Linked DNA regions of Homo sapiens: region 1 is linked to region 2. The links are contacts of gene promoters, found by promoter capture Hi-C in blood cells and fetal thymus (Javierre and others, 2016). All regions are on one chromosome and are shown on one strand. Each heading gives the region's core, a stretch centred on a gene start or on the middle of the fragment in contact. The rest is flanking DNA. Distances are from core to core; before and after follow the strand shown.

What was found. Contacts are between HindIII fragments. The CHiCAGO score rates a contact against its expected background, and 5 or more counts as called.
Region 1: a fragment that was not itself captured here is called in contact with the fragment with the promoter of NALF1 in region 2 in 1 of 17 cell types (endothelial precursors); the score reaches 5.8 in endothelial precursors.

Annotation. Positions count from the first base shown.
Region 1 is chr13:107,342,753-107,345,563 of GRCh38, forward strand. The region is part of intron 1 of NALF1 (NALCN channel auxiliary factor 1); the gene reads right to left. Among named protein-coding and RNA genes, the nearest start is that of SNORD31B, 23 kb to the left of the region's middle. The HindIII fragment of the contact is 1,050 bases long and covers 943-1,992 here.
Region 2 is chr13:107,866,246-107,868,945 of GRCh38, forward strand. It overlaps NALF1 (NALCN channel auxiliary factor 1), which reads right to left and starts at 1,251. Exons shown (of 3, transcript NM_001080396.3): 1 at 1-1,251. The coding sequence starts at 351. It overlaps LOC124903206 (heparan sulfate glucosamine 3-O-sulfotransferase 4-like), which reads left to right and starts at 428. Exons shown (of 1, transcript XM_047430833.1): 1 at 428-2,700. The coding sequence starts at 652. The coding sequence ends at 1,215. RefSeq lists an enhancer at 1,719-2,287. The HindIII fragment of the contact is 11,168 bases long and covers 1-2,700 here.

The sequences.
Region 1 (2,811 bases), core at 218-2,717, 520 kb before region 2:
TATAAAAGGAAATGTAAAAGGAATCAGAGCATGTCCATAGAAAACAAGAGTCAATGACTCAAAAAGGAAAGCAGTAAGAGTGGGGGAAAATACATGTATCTAACATCAAAGCTCCCAAATGTATGACGCATACGTTGACAGAAGTGAAGGGAGAATTCAACATTAACACAGTAACAGGAGGAGATCTTAACACCTCACTTTCAACAATGGATAGAACAATCAGACAGATGGTAACTAAGGAAACAGAGACTATAACGACACTACAACCAATTGAACTTAACAGACATGTATAAAACACTCTACCCCATAAAAGCAAAATACACATTTTTCTTAAGTTCACAGAGAATGTCTCCCAGGATAGATCACACATTAGGCTACAAAACAAATCTTAACAAATTTAAGAAGATTGAAATCATACCAATTATCTTTTCTGCTCACAATGAAATGAAACAAGAAATCAATAGCAGTGGAAAAATGGAAATTTCCAACAGTGTTAAAATTAAACAGCACACACTTGCACAACTGAGTTAATAAAGAAATTGAAAGGGAAATTGATATGGTTTGACTTTGTCCCCACCCAAATCTCATCTTGAATTTTCACATGTTGTGGGAGGGACCCAGTGGGAGGTGATTGAATCATGGGGGGCAGGTCTTTCCCATGCTGCTCTCATGATAGTAAATAAGTCTCACAAGATCTGATGGTTTTAAAAAGAGGAGTTCCCCTGCACAAATTCTCTCTCTTTTCCTGCTGCCATCTATGTAAGACGTGACTTGCTCCTCCTTGCCTTCTGCCATGATTGTGAGGCTTTTCCAGCCAAGGGGAACTATAAGTCCATTAAACCTCTATCTTTTGTAAATTGCCCAGTCTCGGGTATGTCTTTTTCAGCAGCATGAAAATGGACTAATAAAGAAATTAAAAGATATCTTGAGACAACCTAACAAAGCTTATGGGATGCAGCCAAAAGCAGCACCAAGAGCAAAGTTTATAGTGATAAAAACCTGCAATCAAAAGAACGATCTCAAATGAATAAGATTTATACCTAAAGGAATTAGAAAAAGAACGAAGTAAACAGGTAGCTAACAGAGGAAAGGAATAAAAATTAGACCAGAAATCAACAAAGTAGAGAACAGAAAAACAAGAAGAAAAAAAATTAAACACAGAGTTTTTTTTTGAAAAGATTAACAAAATTGACAAACCGTTATCTAGACTAAGAAAACAAGGGAAGACTCAAGTAACTAAAATCAGAAATGAAAGATGAGACATCACAATTGGTGCCAAAAAAGGAGATAATAAGCGACTACAGAACAACTATCTGCCAGCAAATGGAATAGCCTAAAAAAATGGATATGTTTCCAGAAATATAAAGTCTACCAAGACTGAACTATGAAGAATTAGAAAATCGCAACAGATTTATAACTATTAAGAAAATTGAATCAGTAATCAGAAACCTCCCAATAAATAAAAGCCCAGGACCAGATGGCTTCACTGAAGAATTCTATGAAACATTTAAAGAATAATTGCCAATCCTTCTCAAACTCTTCCAAAAAACTGAAGAGGAGGGAACACTTCCAAATCCATTTTATGAGTCCATCATTACTCTGATACAAAAGCCAGACAACGATACTAACAGAAAAGAAAATTACAGGACAATATCACTGATGCATATTGATGCAAAAATCCTTAACAAAACACTAGCAAATCAATTTCAAAAGTACATTAAAAAGATTAGACACTGTGACTAAGTTGGATTTATTTCTTATGTACGTGATGGCTCACACACAAAAATCAATCAATGTAATACACCACATCAACCAAAGAACACAAATCACATGCTCCTCTCTATGATGCAGAAAAAGCATTTGACAAAATCCAACATGCTTTCATGATAAAAACACTCAACTAACTAAGCGTAGAAGAAAATTACTGTAACATAATAAAGGTCATATATGAAAAGGACACAGGTATCATTATATTCAATGGTTAAAAACCAAAGCTTTTCCTTTAATATCAGGAGCAAGACAAGAATGCCCACTCTTACCACTTTTATTCAAAATGGCATTGGAAGGCCTACCAAGATAAAATAGTAGAAAAATATATAAATAAAATCATCCAAGTTGGAAAGGAAGAAGTAAAATTATCTCTTTTCACAGATGAGATAAACTTACACATAAAAATCCCTAAAGATTCTACCAAAAAAATTGTTAGAACTAATAAAAACAAATTCGGTAAAGTTGAAGAATACCAAATGAACTCTCAGAAATCAGTTGTGTTTCTATGTGCTAACAACAAACAACCTAAAAATGAAGAACAATCTCAGTTATAATAGCAGCTACACACACACACACACATACACACACACAAGACTTGTACACTGACAACTTCAAAAACATTGCTGAAAGAAGTTAAAGACATCAGTAAATGAAAAACCATCCTTTGTTCTTGCATTGGAAGACTTATATATTAAAATGTTTATACGACTCAAAGCAATCTATAGATTCAATGCAATTTCTATCAAAATCTCAATTGCATTTTTTACAGAAACAGAAAAAAATTCTAAAATTCATATGGAATCTGGAAGGACCCTGAATGGCCAAAACAATCTTGACAAAGAAGAGAAAAGCTGGAGGCCTCACACTTTCTGATTTTGAAACACATTGCAAATTAAGAGTAATTAAAAGGGTATGGTATTGGCATAAAGACAAAGACATAGACCAAAAGAACACAATCGAGAGCCCAGGAATAAACTCTTGTATATATGGCCAAGTGATCTTTGACAAGCATGCAAAGTCTACACAATATGGAAAGAAGAG
Region 2 (2,700 bases), core at 1-2,500:
GGCGGCGGGCGAGGACTCCCCCATGCTCGCCAGGAGCGCGGGCCAGGAGGGCTCCTGCTGCCGCCGCTGCTGCTGCTGCTGCTGCCGCTGCCTCTGCTGCTGCTGCTGCTGCTGCTGCTGCCGCTGCTGCTGCTGGTGCTCCTTGTCCCGGGCCCGGGTCAGCTTGGCCTCGGCGCAGAACCACAAGTGATCAGAGAGCAGGACTGTGAAAAACAAGAGAGATGCCAGAGACAGTCGCCATTTCTGAGCCCTCTCGGAATCGATGAACGGTTTCTCGTTCTCTCGGGGTGCTGCCAACCAGATTTTTAAGCCGTCGTCATACTGCCGACACATCCAAGCACCCCTGGTCATATTTTGGGAACGCACAGCCCTGGCCGACTCCACCGTGAGGGCGCCTGTGCCGGTGTCACCACAATATGCATTGACTTAAAGGGTTTAATTTCCTTATCCCCTCCTCCCGTTTCTTCTCTCTCCTCTCTCTCTTTCTCTCTCTTCCCCTCTCCCTCTCTCCTCTCTCTCTCTCTCCCTCTCCCTCTCTTTTATCTCTCTCTGTCTCTTTTGCCTACATAAATATTACCAGGCTTTGAAGGAAGGTCTGACTTGCTTCCTAATCATCAGCCGACCCCATCCTCTGTAGAGTGGGAAACAATAATGGAGAGAGAGAGAGAGAGAGAGACGGAGGAGGCTGGTGCTGGTGGCCGGCGGCGAGGCTGGGTGCAGGGGGCGATGGTGGAGGTGACAGGGTGGCTGGCGCGGCTCCGGTCACCCAGGCATTGTCAGCGCGCGGGTCCCCATGGCCCCGCGGAGCCCAGCCCGCTCTCCCCTGCCAGGGGCATGCCGCGCCTCCGCTGCCCACTGACGGCGCCCGGAGCGCCTCCCCTCCTCCTCCTCCTCCTCCTCTTCTTCTCCTCCTCTTCCTCCTCCTTCCTTTCCTTCTCCTTCTTCTTCTCCTCCGCCTCCCGCTCCTGCTCCGCGCTGGCTCTCCCAGAGTCCGGAGCCTGGGCTGCCTCCGGCGGGGCGCTCCCTCCCCCCCACCCCCCACCCCGCGCTCTAAGTGCTGCCGCCGCCGCCGCCGCCGCCGCCGCTGCCGCAGGGCCGCCCGCGGGCGCCGCCGCCGGGGCTCCGACTGCTGACGCCGCCTCCCGCGGAGCTCCGGGCCGAATCGCCTGGGCTGGGCCTCCCGAGAGCCACAGTCATCTTCAGTCCGCGGGCTAAGTTGCCGCCATCTTCGTCCTGGAGAAACACTTTTTTGGGGGGAGCGCTGGCTTTTGCGTCATCTCCTCCCGCGCCGAGCTCGCTCCATCCTGGCGCAGTGGCGCCGGCTCGGCCCGGGAGGAGGGAGAAGGCGCGCGGGGGCGGGCGGCGGCGGGGCCGCGGGGCCCGGGGGCCCCCGCCCGGCTCCCCGGGCTCAGGCGCCTGCTCTTTCCTTTCTGTCCCCCTGTCCACGATATTTTGTTTTAATCACTGAAGAGAAAAATAAAAGTCAGACTGCGGACGGCATGGCCGGTGAGGCTCCTCGCGGCCGCGCCGCCCGCACGCTCTGGCTCCGGGAAGCGTCCGAGTTGCAGGCGCCCGGGCAGAGGTCTCTACTGGTGCGAGGGTCTGGGCAGAGTCCTCTCAACTAAGGACCGAGCCACTTCGGATGGAAGGTGGGGGTCCGCGGAGGAAGCTCGAATTGGCTAGAGGAGGGATGAGGTGACATTTGGTCTCTGAATGCGTCTCGGATCCCGGACCGCGAGATCCATCGCTCCCAGTGCGTGCAGTTATTCCGTCCTGCTGTGTGACACGGGAGAATGGCGCGCACGCCTGTGCACCTGCATCGACCGTGTAGCTGCCTGGGTGACAGCCACCCATTTGTCTATGTTTTCTTTCCTATTCTAAAGTAAACGATTAGAAGTGGCCTCATAGAGTCTTAGGAAGAAACAGTAAGCCCTGTGCCACCCGGGGTCACTGCCTAGCCCTGCCCTCCGCGCGCACCGTCCGCGTCTCCGAGGGCTCCTCCTCGGACCTGGACCCTCTGGAGCGGCTTCGACCCTCCCTCTGCCCCCGCTGCCTGCGTCCAGACCCCCTCCCGGGTGGGCTCCTCCGAGGACCTCCGCAGCCGCGGGCGAGCTGGGTGCCTGCGAGTCGCCGCCGCAGTCTGAGCCTCTGGTGCCCCTTAGCGTTGGCTCTCGGAGTTCTGAGAAGGGAAAGGAGACAGACACTCTGGGAAAATCTGGGGTCACCTCGATTCCGGCTCCTACGCTGGATGCCGTGGGCAAGCATCGGTCTCCTTTGATCTGAAGATCCTGCCCACTCCGCCCCTTGCCCCTGCCAGACCCGCGGGAGCAGCAGGTGGCGTGGGTGCCAGACGCTGCCGGTGCGCACCGAGTGCAGCGCTGCCCCGGCTCGCCCCGGGGGTCGCGTGGGACAGCGGTTTGCGGTGTCGCCCTCTCTGCGGTGCTTTCCAAGGACCCTCATGCCCCGCCCGGGTGCACATTCACCACATGGGTCTTACTAGGTGACCTCTTTCTAAGTAAAATGCATTGAGAAACCAAAGGGATGGGGCATCCGTATCCATTTTCCTTTAAGGAGCGCTGTGGGTGTTGGGGATGCGGGAGAAGTAGGTGTTTTTTAAAGAGAAAATTGCAAAACCTCTTGGGCAGGATTCGACCTACTAGCCTCTTCTGCTGCATAATAAGGTACTGTATACACTAAATT